Regions from separate parts of the Homo sapiens genome. Here regions 2 and 3 are each linked to region 1. The links are contacts of gene promoters, found by promoter capture Hi-C in human tissues and cell types (Jung and others, 2019). All regions are on one chromosome and are shown on one strand. Each heading gives the region's core, a stretch centred on a gene start or on the middle of the fragment in contact. The rest is flanking DNA. Distances are from core to core; before and after follow the strand shown. Region 1 holds the start of TSC22D4 (TSC22 domain family member 4). Region 2 holds the start of EPHB4 (EPH receptor B4). Region 3 overlaps SLC12A9-AS1 (SLC12A9 antisense RNA 1).

Region 1 (4,571 bases), core at 1,353-3,852:
GTGGTCACCCTCGAGTTATCAATCACAGAGAGGCTCAGATGGACGGGGGTGAGCCAGACAACTGGGGGGTGAAATGGATCAACCAGCAGGCCCCCTCCCTGTCCCTGAGAGGTGTTCCCCCCACCCAATTTCTCAGTGACACTTGGCTTACAGCAAAGCTGGAGGCAGGACTGAGATGGGTGGCTGGGGGAAAAGAAAGACCCCCACATTCAGGATGGGGCTGCAGTGCAGAGACTGGCAGCGCGCAAGGCCTACCTTTTACTTTTCCTCCCCAAATCCTGGCAGCTCCTCCCCTAGGGACCCAGCTACCCAGCTATCCAGCTGGGGCCTCCACCCTCATCACCTAGAGGCAGAGGGGCTGAGACCAAGACAGAAGAAGGCCTGATGAGGGGGCCACATATGCTACAGGCTACATGAAGACCAAGACAGAGAATCAGAGGCCAGGGAGAAAGAGAGAGGGTGCAGAAAAACAGGAAGGAGGCTGAGACAGAAAATGAAGTAGGAGGAAGGGGCTTCAGAGTGACCTGGCAGGCACAGAGAAGAGGGCTATCTGATCTTATAAAGTGATGGAGAAGGAGGAGGAGAGGGGGGGGAGGAGGAGGAAGGAGGCTCAAGATAGAGGTTAGGCCAGGGCTGATGGGCCAGCCCTAGAACCCAGGTCTTACCTGCCCCATCTCTTCTGGAGCACCCAACTCCATCCGCAGCCGCATGTCTACAGCTTTCCTCCGGGACAGTGGAGGGGTCCTGGCCCCTGAGCCCCCAGCCTCCGCTTCCACCCTCAGAGAGGGCAGGGGCGTGGCAGCCCGGGATGTGCCCGCACTCTCACCGGTCTCAGGCTCTGGGGGGCGCTGCTGGGGTGAGGAGGCCGACAGTGGGGGTTTCTCTGCCTTGGCTTTGCTGGGCACCACCAGCTGGCCCAGTCCCCCAGTGAAGGAGCGGGCCTGAGGTCCAGGAGAGGTGGGGGGTGGACGGAGCCAGGAGGTGGGGCCCTGAGACAGGCCTGACGGTGGGGTGGGGGCGCCCAGGCCGAGGCTGGCCAGCTCCAACCTGGAATCCAAAGATCTGCCCCCGGCGCCCCCTGAGGCCCCTCGAATTCCCTCCAGGAGTCCGCCGAAGCTGTGGGGCTCCAGGTCTCGCTCATAAACATCCACACACGTCCAGCGACCGCGGCGATAAGGCTCTCCCAGGCCGTGGGGCAGCTTCACCACCCGGAAACGGGAGGAAGGGGCCCCAGGTGGTGGGGAGCCATTCCGGGGGGTGCCCTTGCCCCCCGGATCGGGGCTGGGCTCCCCATTGGGCAGGCGGGGCGGGGGCCCGGTTGGGGGCTGTGGGGTAGGGGGATCCGAAGCCCCTGGGCTCCCAGGGCCCTCATAGTCCGTGGTGACGCTGGTGATTTGGAAACTACTCTTCTTCTTGCCCCCGCTCATGGTCCCTGGGGCTCAGGGCTGGGCCAAGGTTGGGGGTGGGTTGGGGCTCCTTGAAGGGGCTCAGGCACCCCTGGAACAAGGGGGCCACATGGCGGGGACATCCGAGCCCCTGGGGACGTCTGGGTCCGACATGGCAGGAGGGCCTGGCGGGAACCGGGGGTGCCTGCTGGGTGAGGGGAGAAGAGGAGAGGGGAGGTGGCGGGAGGGGGGAGCAGGGGCAGGTTTTTCCTGCTGCTGTTGCTGCTGAACTCCAGAGCTGAGTTTGCAAACTGGAAAAAGAGGGGGAGAGAGAGAGAGAGAGAGAGAGAGAGAGTGTGTGTGTGTGTGTGTGTGTGTGTGTGTGTGTGTGTGTGTGTGTGTGTGAAACCAGTGGGCAGGCCACCTCCGGGGCTTCCTCTCCGGGGAGCAGAGTGGGGGAAGGGGAAACCGTCAGAGACCCAGAGACAGGCAAGAGATGACAGAGACCAGGGCAGAGGGGACTGGATCCAAGAAGGCACTCAGAGTAGAAAGAGGCAGATGAGTCCCAGAGTTGGGCATTTCTCGCCTGGGATTCTGACTCAGGGGGCCCGTATTGTCCCAAGAGCTCGGACTCCAGGGCCTGGGAGAACCAGGCTGAAGCAGCTCCCCAGCCTGGCCCGGCCACTCAGAGAGACCTCTCCTGGGCCTCGAGCCCCCACCCTCACCCCAGCTCCCACATCTCTGGGGCAGGCCCTGCCCGGCTACCCCCCAGCGCCCCACCCAGCCCTGAACCCTACCTCTGGGGCCTCGGCCACTGATCTGAGCCTGAGGGTCCCGGCGCCTAAGAGGTCGGGCTGTCCGTTCCCTGGGGCCTCCTGGCCATGGGCAGTGGCGGGGCACGCAGGCGGCGATCAGAGGCTGTCCCGTCCTCTCCGGGGGCCGCGGCTCATCCTGCCAGGCATCTCCGAGGAAAGTTTGCTCTCCGGAAAAGAAGAAACCCGCGCCTCCTCCGAGGAGCCTAGGAGCGGCCTCTGAAGCCCCAAGGGTCTGGAGACTGATGTGGGAGGGGGCGGCCGAGCCCCCCTCTGCTCCCGGTGGCAGCCAGCGAGTGGGTGTCCCGAGTCTCCTCCCGCGTGACCCTGCTGGGTCCGTGTCTCCGCTCCTCGGCTCCCCTGGGTCTCTGCCTCTCCGTCTTTCTCTTTCTGGGCTGTTGACAACCCCCACACCAGGAAGTCCTGCCTCCTCGGGCCTGCTGACTGCTCCTCTCCTCCTCCTCCTCCTCCTTCCCCTCTTCCTCCCCTTCCTCCTCCCTCCCTCCCTCCTGGGGCTTCCCGCCAGCTGGCCCGGGGCCAGGCCTGCCACAGCCGCTGCTGTTGCAGTTGCTGCAGCCACTGCTTAGGCTGCTGCTCCTGGGGGCCCCAAACAGACTCCCTTAACCCCACACCTGCCGGGCCCTAGCCCCACTCTTGCAGGGAGGGGCTGCAGGGGGCGGGGCTCGGGGAGAAAGGGGAGGAGCTTGCAGGGAGGCGAGGGATTCCCTTACTTGTAGTCAATTGCTGCCATTGGCCTAGAGACACACAGAAGAGACGGAAGGCACAGGCCGGGAGGTGTGCTGCATGCCCACCCAGAAGTTCCCAGTCCCTGCTGTGGGGCAGCTGTGGCTGTTACTGTCATTCTCCTTTGGTTTTCACAGCAACTGCATTATTCCCCCCATTCCTTATTTTTAAAAGTGGATTATTGCCGGATCCCGGTGGTGGCTCATGCCTGTAATCTCCGCACTTTGGGAGGTCGAGGAAGGAGGATCGCTTGAGACCAGTTTGGACAATATAATAGCAAGACCCCATCTCTACAAAAAATAAAAAAAAATAGCTGGGCATGGTGATGTGCACCTATAATTCCAGCTACTCAAAGGTGGGAGGATCGCTTGAGCCCAGGAGTTCGTGACCAGCCTGGGCAATATAACGAGATCCCCATCTCTACAAAAAATTTAAAAAATTAGCACTTTGGGAGGCCGAGGCGGGCGGATCACGAGGTCAAGAGATTAAGACCATCCTGGCCAACATGGTGAAACCAAGTCTCTACTTAAAATACAAAAATTAGCCAGGTGTGGTGGCGGGCACCTGTAGTCCCAGCTACTCGGGAGGCTGAGGCAGGAGAATCACTTCAACCTGGGAGGCGGAGGTTGCAGTGAGTCGAGATCACGCCACTGCACTCCAGCCTGGTGACAGAGTGAGACTCCATCTTAAAAAAAAAAAAAAACTGAGTGTGGTGATGTATACCTGTAGTCCCAGCTACTCAGGAGGCTGTGAGGCAGGAGGATCTCTTGAGCCCAGGAGGTTGAGGATGCAGTGAGCCAAGATTGTGCCACTGCACTCCAGCCTGGGCAACAGAGTGAGACCATGTCTCAAAAAAAAAAAAAAAGTGGATTATTATGAAAATTTTCAAACATGCCATGCAGACATGGGGAGACCATGCAAACTCCACACAGATGGTGGTCCCAGCCCAAAATCAATTTTTAGAAAATCATCAATGTTATAATGAAATGACATTCAATGAAATGACATTGTGTGGGGGCCAGCTGTAGTTTGCTGGACTATTTGAAATCAGATCCTAGATGTTATACTATTCCCCTTTCCCCCAACCTGCCCCCGCCTTTTTTTTTAGAGACAGGGTCTCTCTCTCTCTCTGTTGCCCAGGATGGAGTGCAGTGGTGCGATCATAGCTCACCACAGCCTGGAACTCCTGGGCTCAAGCCATGCTCCTGCCTCAGCCTCCCAAGTAGCTGGGACCACAGACACACACTACTACGCCTGGCTAAATTTCTTTAAAAAAAAATTTTTTTTTTTGGTAGAGATGGGGATCTTGCAATGTTGCCCAGGGTGGTCTTGAACTCCCGGCCTCAAGTGATCCTCCTGCTTCTGCCTCCCTAGTAGCTGGGACCACAGGTGTATACCACCATACCTGGCTAATTTTTTAGTTTTTGTAGAGACAGGTTATTACTATGTTGCCCAGGCTGGTCTCGAATTCCTGGCCTCAAATGATACTTCCACCTGGGCCTCCCAAAGAGCTGACATTACAGGCGTGAGCCATGGTGCCTGGCCTCAGGGAAATTTCTAACCCCTCTTTTTTTGAGACGGAGTCTCGCTCTGTCGCCCAGGCTGGAGTGCAGTGGCTCTATCTCGGCTC
Region 2 (4,546 bases), core at 661-3,160, 350 kb after region 1:
CTTCTCGCTGTTCCTCGCGGCACAGGGCCTTGGATAAACTACTTAACCTTAACTAAGCCCCAGCCTCCTCATCTGAAAAATGGGGGCAATAATAGCACCACCCTTAGCGTTGCTGGATGGGTGAAATTAATATTTGTAAGGCGCTCAGCACAGGCCTGGTGCTTGGAAACACTCAGGTAATAGGTGTCACAATCACCATTTCCTCTTTGCGTCTTTCCTTCTCACCACACCTCGTCCTCGTGGTTTTTCCACCCCTTTGGCCTTCCTCTTCCCCTCGTTCATGGTTTTTGTTCCCCCTTCTCCGTTCTCTGAGCTGGGCAAGCCTCCCCTCACTCCCAACCCCACACCTAGCCTTTGATCCCCAGCCCAGGGCAGTCCTGCCCAGCCAGGGGGAGAGGGTTTTTCTAACGCCGCTGAATCCTTCCCTTTGGGAGTCCCTCATAGCCTACCGCCCCATAACCACTTTCATACCAGACAGAGAAAGGGGGGTGTTGGCAGCTCACTGAAAGGACATTAGGGACACAGGAGAGTTTCTAGGGCTCTTGGCTCCCCCTTTAGGGGACCAGGAGGGACAGCGATCCATGGCCAAAGAAATGCTTGGAGAGACCAGGAGGTGGGAGATAGACTGGGTTAGTTAGGGCGATGTGGGGGCTGTGTAGGTCAGTTTCTACCTGGGGGCTGTGTAGGTCAGTTTCTACCCGCTCCTAGGTCTCAAGGGAAGCCCGGGACTCACCTGGGGCCGGGGTCTAGACCGCATTTAAAGGGATGGGGTGCAGCCTGTAGAAACCAAGGAGCCACCCTATACCAGGGGCAGGAGCAGTGGGCGGGAGAGCGGTTTGGGGGTTTGCTGTGTGAATGCAAAGGAGGCCATCCTGTTGCAGGAGTGTGGAACTGGAGGATCAAGGTGTGATCGCTAAGGAATTGGCGCTGGGGGTCGTTTTAGGGCCTAGCACGAAAAGTTGTGCCTTGTCTGCTGTTGCTTCTCCAGAAACCTTCCCTCATGTACGGCGGGAGGTGGGACTGGGACAGAAACTTTGCAGATAGTTTTGAATAGTGGGGTAGGGAGGAAAGGAAAGGCAGCCAGGGGCGTATGTAATCAGCAGTGAGAGTTCGGGGAGCCCGGGCAGGGGAATGTCCCGGGTCGTAGCCAGACTCCATCTCTTTCCCAAACAAAAGAAAACTCCACTACCCGTCGGGCGCCTCTTCCCCGCCCCCCTCCCGTTCCAGCACTATCGGTCCGAAGTGTTTGGGACTGCAGTGCCCGGGTAGGGGTAGTCAGAGGCCGGCCCCTCCACTCCGAGGCCCAGATGTTGGGGGGGAGGTCCCAGGAGTGACGGGGTGCGCCCCCCCCCGCAAGGAAACTCACCTTCCAAAGCTGCGGCCAACGAAGCCCAGCAGAGCAGCACCCGGAGCTCCATGGCGCCGCCTCACTCGGGTAGGATCCGAACTGAGTTTGGGGGGCCCTCGCCCCCCCAGGTCTGACTCTCCCTGGGCGGGTGGACGCCGATACTCCGCGCGGGACTCCTCGTCGGGGCCCTCAGCGCGGGCCCATGCGAGCGTGCGGGGCACCGGGCGGCGGCGCCAAGTGTGGCCCCGCGTCTGTGCCGCGCGCGCGGGCGGCGGGCCCGGAGCGTGCTGGCAGTGGCCGCGCCGGGCGGGCGCGCAGCAAGACGTGGCTGGAGTTGGGGTCCCTCCGGGGCCTCGGGGTCCCGCCCCGGGTGGCGGGGGCTGAGCCGGCCGCTCGCGGTCTCCCCCCCTCCCTGGAGTGGCTCTGCTCGCGCCGCCGGGCCGAGTGCTCTCCTCGCGGGCGGGGATGGTGGGAGCCCGAGCGGGGACGGAGCGGGAGGGAGGGAGACTGCGGCGCGGAGCCGGGCGGGCCGGGCCGGGCAGGGGCTGAGCTGCGCTGGAACTGGGCCGGGCGGCGCCGGGCCCGGGAGGGAGGGGCGCGCGGGGGGCGGGGGCAGCTCTCCCAACGCGGGGGCTCCGCGAGTGAGCCCCGGGCGCGCTGATTGGAGCTCACGCTACTGAATAATTCATGAGGGAAGCGGAGAGGGGCACCGAGTGGAGCAGGTCGGGAAGTTGAGAGAAAGTTTGGAGAAGGGGGAGGGGCGGCGGGTGAGGAACCCCGGGACCGCCCAGATGTGCGCCGTGGCGGTGCGCGCTGTCCAGGACCGAGCATGTCGGGGCTGGGGCCCAGGGACCCCCGGGACAGGCCCGAACCCGGCTGGCACCAGGGAGCAGAGAAAACACACACCCAGCAGCAACACGGAGGGCCGCCCAGGCGTGCACGTAAATGTTCACCGCGCACACAAAGCCCGCTCTGACCTTGCTGCGGACTCTAGATGCCGCTCTTGGATGCGCCCACCACCCTCTAGTGGGCGCAGGGACTGCGTTTTGGGGGAAAAGGAAGGAAAAGGGAGTAGAAGCTTTGGAGAATTGACGGCCGCCCAGGGGGCCTCAAGGAGCAATCCCAGTTTGGATAGCCTTGCAGCGAACGTTCACACAGTCACCCCATAAACATTCAGTGTTGGGGACCTACTGTGCGCGCAACCAAGCCCTGAAAAATGTCCAGAGGAGGCGCGCACTAAGCTGCGCTAGGGAGTAGAGAAAAATCGAGGAAACAACGGTAAAGAAAAGGTGGGTGTGGCGGGCGCGGTGGCTCACGCCTGTAGTCCCAGCATTTTGGGAGGCAGAGGCAGGCGGATCATTTGAGGTCAGGAGTTCAAGACCAGCCTGGCCAACATGATGAAACCCCGTCTCTACTAAAAATACAAAAATTAGCTGGGCATGGTGGCGCGCGCCTGTAATCCTAGCTACTCGGGAGGCTGAGGCAGGAGAATTGCTTGAACCGGGACCTAGGAGGCGGAGGTTGCAGTGAGCTGGGAGCTGAGATCGCGCCACTGCACTCCAGCCTGGGCTACAGAGTGAGACGAAATCTCAAAAAAAAAAAAAAAAAAAAAAAAGGTGGGTGTGTCCGAGAGGGTGAGGGGTCCGGCTAGATCTCCAAATCGCCCTTCTCACTCTCACTCTCGTGTTTTGGGGGGGCTTCCCCGCCGCCCGCAGCCATGACCCCTGAGGCTGGGGCTGCGGCTGCGGCTGCTGTCTTTCCTGAGCTGTTTCCTGTCTGGCTCCTGGGGGCCCTCGGGATGGCTGGGAGGGGCCCTTCCTCTCACTGCCAACTCCCCTCACCCTCCCATCAGTTAGCGGGGAGGGTCCAGCACAGCCGTGCTCCTCCCACCAACCCCCTTCTACTTCAGGGAACTTAACAGTATGGGTTACTGGATAGATGGATTGGAGGGGGTGCTGCTCCAGGAGTCAGCCCCTCCAAGGGGCAGAAGGAAAGGACTTAGACTCCCACAGTAATTAGCGGGGACAGATTTTTTTTTTTTTTTTGAGACAGAGTCTCCCTCTATTTCCCAGGCTGGAGTGCAGTGGCGTGATCTGGGCTCACTGCAACCTCCGCCTCCCAGGTTCAAGCGATTCTCCTGCCTCAGCCTCCCGAGTAGCTGGGATTACAGGCACAGGGCACCAACCCCGGCTAGTTTTCGTATTTTTAGTAGAGACAGGGTTTCGCCATGTTGGCCAGGCTGGTCTCGAACTCCTGACCTAAAGTGATCCACCCACCTTGGCCTCCCAAAGTGCTGGGATTACAGACGTTAGCCACCGCGCCCAGCCGGAGGACAGAATCTTGAGGAGCCCAGCAAGAGAGACGTTGGAGCCCAGCAAGAGAGACGTTGGAGTCCAGGATGCTTGGGGGGCTGCCAAGCGCCCTTACGTCCCAGAAAGGACAGCCGGGCCTGTGATAACCTCTTGTCCCGGCTTACTTATCTTCCTGCTGCAAGAGGTGTTCCCCACACCCCTGCCCTTCCTTGCTGTTCTGCCTGGGTCCTGCGCCCGGGTTGGGGGGGGTGGGCCGGTCACCGAGGGCAGGAAACAGCCGGCTTCACTGGAGCCAGGCAGACCAGGCTGGAGCTGGGAATTCCCTCCTCCCTCCCCGATGCAGGCCCAGTCTCCCCTTCTCTTATTCAGCTTCTCCCTCGGGGTTCTCTGCAACCCTCTCCCAAACCCCTGCCCTGCCTTTTGCCACTCTCACTCTGTACCCAGATCCTGTAGCCTCTAAAAGTTATGTCTTCTGGCTGGGGACAGTAGCTCAGGTCTGTAATCTCAGCATTTTGGGAGGCCGAGGCGGGTGGATCACTTGAGCCCAAGAGTTCGAGACCAGCCTAGCCAACATGGTGAAACCCCTCTCTACTAAAAATACAAAAATCAGCTGGGCATCATGGCACACACCTGTAGTCCCAGCTACTAGGGAGGCTGAGGCACGAGAATCGCTTGAACCCGGGAGGCAGAAGTTGCAGTGAGCAGAGATTGCACCACTGCACTCCAGCCTGGGCAACAGAGCCACACTCTGTCTCCAAAAAATATATAAAGTAAATAAATAAGTAAATAAATAAATAGGCTGGGCGCAGTGGCTCACACCTGTAATCCCAGCACTTTGGGAGGCCGAGGCAGGCGGATCACCTGAGGTCAGGAGTTCGAGACCAGC
Region 3 (4,164 bases), core at 910-3,409, 370 kb after region 1:
ACCAGAGGGAGAAAAAATAAGACATTGTAAAGCGAGAGAAGCCCCTTATGGGTCTTTTGACTCTCATGTCTATTTAGACGCAATTGGAGTCCCATGAGGAATACCAGATCAATTTAAAGCTTGAAATCAAATAGCTGCAGGATTTGAGTCAATATTTTGGTGAGTGACAGTTAATAAAAATGTAGATTAGATAAACTACATCTATTACAACCAACAGCAATGAGCTTTTCATGAGTTAAAAGAAAAACTCATGTCGGCCCCAGCCCTGAGGCTACCTGAACCCTTTACACCCTACGTGTCAGAAAGAGAAAAAAAGGCAGTTAGAGTTTTAACCCAGACTGTAGGGCCCTGGGCAAGGCCAGTGGCCTATCTCTCAAAACAACTAGACAAGGTTTCCAAAGGCTGGCCCCCAGGTTTAAGGGCCCTAGCAGCAATGGCCCTGTTAGCACAAGAAGCAGATAAACTAACCCTTAGGCAAAACCTGAATATAAAGTCCCCCCATGCTGTGGTAACTTGAATGACTACCAAAGGACCTCATTGGTTACAAATGCTAGATTAACCAAGTACCAAAGCTTGCTATGTGAAAATCCCCACATAACCATTGAAGTTTGCAACACCCTAAACCCCACCACCTTGCTGCCAGTATCAGAAAGCCCAGTTGAACATAACTGTATAGGGGTGTTAGACTCAGTTTATCCTAGCAGGCCCAACCTCCGAAACCATCCTTAAACATCAGTAGACTGTGAGCAGTATGTGGACGGAAGCAGCTTCGCCAGCCCCTGCAAAGTGACTCTGAAGAAGATGACAAGCCCTGCTCCAGTCACACCCGGAAGCTGACTGGTCCACGCATGGCCGAAGCATGAGAAAACTCATCGCAGGACTCATTTGCCTTAAAATTTGGAATTTTACAGTAAGGACTTCAACTGACCTTCCTCAGACTGAGGACTGTTCCCAGTATATACATCAAGTCACTGAGGTAGGACAAAAGGTTGCTATGGTCCTATTATTTTACAGTTATTATAAGTGTACTAGAACTCTAAAAAAGCCTTGTTTGTATAATGTTATTCTGTACAAGGTATGTAGCCCAGGAAATGACCAACCTGATGTGCGTTATGACCCACCTGAGCCTCCCATGACCACAGTTTTTAAAATAAGATTAAGAATGAAGACTGGTGGGGGCTCACAAACGATATGAGTAAAGTGTTAACCAAAACAGAAGAAAAAGAGGTGCCCAAACAAGTCACGTTAAAATTTGATGCCTGTGCTATCATTAATAGTAATAAGTTGGGAATAAGGTGTAGTTCTCTTAATTAGAAAAGAGGCTATATGGCAGAAAATAAGTACATCTGTCATAAATTAGGACTGTGTGGAAATAAATGTAAATACTGGTCTTGTGTCATTTAAGCCACTTAAATTAAAAAAAAATAAAAAGGACCCAGTCCACCTTCAGAAAGGAAAAAATGGCCCTTCCTGTACTAAAGGACAATGTAACCCTTTAGAGCTAGTAATAACCAATCCCCTTGATCCTCGCTAGAAAAAAGAGGAGCGTGTGACCTTAGGAATCAACGGGGCTGGACTGGATCCTCGAGTAAATATCTTAGTTCGAGGAGAAGTTTATAAACGCTCTCCTGAGCCAGTATTTCAAAACTTCTATGATAAACTAAAAGTGCCAGTACCAGAAATTCCAGGAAAAACAAGAAATTTGTTTTTGCAATTAGCCGAGCGTGCAGCCCAGTCTCTCAATGTCACTTCCTGTTATATATGTGGAGGAGCTGTAATAGGAGATCAATGGCCATGGGAAGCCCGAGAATTGGTACCTACATACCCAGTTCCTGATGAATTCCTGGCACAAAAAAATCACCCTGATCACTTCTAGGTCCTAAAAGCCTCAATCATTGGACAATACTGTATAGCAAAAGTGGAGAAGGACTTCATCCTTCCTGTAGGAAGACTGCATGGTGGACTTCAAACCACACAGAGAAAAATCCATTCACTAAATTTCCAAAGTTGCGGACCGTTTAGGCCCACCCAGAATCCCACCAGGACTGGACGGCCCCCACTAGGCTATACTAGATATGTGGACATAGAGCCTACGCTAGGCTGCCTGACCAGCAGACAAGTAGTTGTGTTATTGGCGCTATTTTATTTTATTTATTTATTTATTTTTTTGAGACGGAGTCTTGCTCTGTCGCCCAGGCTGGAGTGCAGTGGAGCAATCTCGGCTCACTGCAAACTCTACCTCCCGGGTTCACGCCATTCTCCTGCCTCAGCCTCCCGAGTAGCTGGGACTACAGGAGCCCGCCACCATGCCCGGCTAATTTTTTGTATTTTTAGTAGAGACGGGGTTTCACCATGTAAGCCAGGATGGTCTCGATCTCCTGCCCTTGTGATCCACCCGCCTCGGCCTCCCAAAGTGCTGGGATTATAGGCGTGGGCCACCACGCCCGGCCTATTGGCACTATTAAACCATCTTTCTTCCTACTGCCCATAAAAACAGGCCAACTCCTAGGCTTCCCTGTCTATGCTTCCCGTGAAAAGAGAAGCATAGCCATAGGAAATTCAAAAAATGATAAATGGCCCTCTGAGAGAATCATACAATATTATAGGCCTGCTACTTAGACACAAGACGGCTCGTGAAGATACTGGACCCCCATTTATATAATCAACTGAATCATATGGTTACAAGCTGTCTTAAAAATAATCACTAATAAAACCAGCAGAGCCTTGACTATTCTAGGCCGGCAAGAAACTCAGATGAGAAATGCTCTCTATCAAAATAGATTAGCTCTCGACTACTTGCTAGCAGCTGAAGGAGAGGTCTGTAAGAAATTTAACCTTACTAATTGCTGCCTACACATAGATAATCAAAGGCAAGTAGTTGAAGACATAGAGATATGACAAAACTGGCACATGTGCCTAGGCAAGTGTGGCATGGATTTGATCCTGAGGCCATGTTTAGAAAATGGTTCCCAGTGCTAAGAGAATTTAAAAGTCTTATAATAAGAGTTATAATAGTAATAGGAACCTGCTTACTGCTCCTTTGTTTGCTACCTGTACTTCTTCAAATGATAAAAAGCTTCATTGCAGGCCGGGCGCGGTGGCTCACGCCTGTAATCCCAGCACTTTGGGAGGCCGAGGCGGGTGGATCACGAGGTCAGGAGATGGAGACCATCCTGGCTAACACGGTGAAACCCTGTCTCTACTAAAAATACAAAAAAATGAGCCGGGCGTGGTGGCGGGCGCCTGTAGTCCCAGTTACTCGGGAGGCTGAGGCAGGAGAATGGCATGAACCCAGGAGGCGGAGCTGGCAGTGAGCCGAGATCGCGCCACTGCACTCTAGCCTGGGCGACAAAGTGAGACTCCGTCTCAAAAAAAAAAAAAAGCTTCATCGCTACCTTAGTTCACCAAAATGCTTCAGCACAAGTGTACTATATGAATCACTATCGATCTGTCGTGCAAGAAGACATGGGTAGTGAGAATGAAAGTGAGAACTTCCACTATTGAGTGAGTCTCAAAGGGGAGGAATAAAGGAAGAGACCGCCCCTCATATTGTCTTATGCCCAATTTCTGCCTCCAAAGAAAGAAAAAGTAAAAACTAAAAGGCAGAAATAAAATCCACAAGCAGACAGCCTGGTGCCACACCCTAGGCCTAGTAGTTAAAGATCGACCCCTGACCTAATCGGTTATGTTATCTATAGATTATAGACATTGTATAGAAAAGCACTGTGAAAATCCCTGTCCTGTTTTCTTCCAATCTAATTACCGGTGCATGCAGCCCCCAGTCACGTACCCCCTGCTTGCTCAATCGATCAAGACCCTCTCTTGCGCGCCCCCTGAGAGTTGTGAGCCCTTAAAAAAGACAGGAATTGCTCACTCGAGGAGCTTGGCTCTTGAGACAAGAGTCTTGCCGATGCCCCCGGCCGAATAAACCCCTTCCTTCTTTAACTCAGTGTCTGAGGAGTTTTGTCTGCGGCTCGTCCTGCTACATTAATGGAAATACAATGTTGGCCAGGCTGGTCCTAAACGCCTGACCTCAAGTGATCCACCCGCCTTGGCCTCCCCAAATGGTGGGAGTACAGGCGTGAGCCACCGCGCCCAGCCGGGAGATGCTGTTAATATTGAAGTCAAGGCATCAGGCATACAGCAGGACTGTAGTTGGTGAGT

The links. The method cuts DNA at HindIII sites, captures the fragments that hold promoters and counts their contacts. A contact is called where the count stands out against the background at its distance.
Region 2: a contact is called between the fragment with the promoter of EPHB4 here and the fragment with the promoter of TSC22D4 in region 1, in 2 of the 25 tissues and cell types used here (bladder and heart right ventricle).
Region 3: a fragment that was not itself captured here is called in contact with the fragment with the promoter of TSC22D4 in region 1 in 1 of the 25 tissues and cell types used here (dorsolateral prefrontal cortex).

What each region holds. Positions count from the first base shown.
Region 1 is chr7:100,476,612-100,481,182 of GRCh38, forward strand. It overlaps TSC22D4 (TSC22 domain family member 4), which reads right to left and starts at 2,603. Exons shown (of 5, transcript NM_030935.5): 1 at 2,183-2,603; 2 at 666-1,696. The coding sequence starts at 1,427. It overlaps TSC22D4-C7ORF61 (TSC22D4-C7orf61 readthrough), which reads right to left and starts at 2,603. Exons shown (of 6, transcript NM_001395846.1): 1 at 2,183-2,603; 2 at 666-1,696. The coding sequence starts at 1,427. RefSeq lists enhancers at 2,239-2,308, 3,009-3,118 and a silencer at 2,759-2,918. The HindIII fragment of the contact is 44,126 bases long and covers 1-4,571 here.
Region 2 is chr7:100,825,613-100,830,158 of GRCh38, forward strand. EPHB4 (EPH receptor B4) reads right to left here and starts at 1,911. Exons shown (of 17, transcript NM_004444.5): 1 at 1,367-1,911. The coding sequence starts at 1,418. It also overlaps a transcript of SLC12A9 not described here. RefSeq lists enhancers at 1,915-2,710, 3,507-4,302. The HindIII fragment of the contact is 16,187 bases long and covers 1-4,336 here.
Region 3 is chr7:100,843,199-100,847,362 of GRCh38, forward strand. The region is part of intron 1 of SLC12A9-AS1 (SLC12A9 antisense RNA 1); the gene reads right to left. It also overlaps a transcript of SLC12A9 not described here. Among named protein-coding and RNA genes, the nearest start is that of SLC12A9-AS1, 7.3 kb to the right of the region's middle. The HindIII fragment of the contact is 3,628 bases long and covers 346-3,973 here.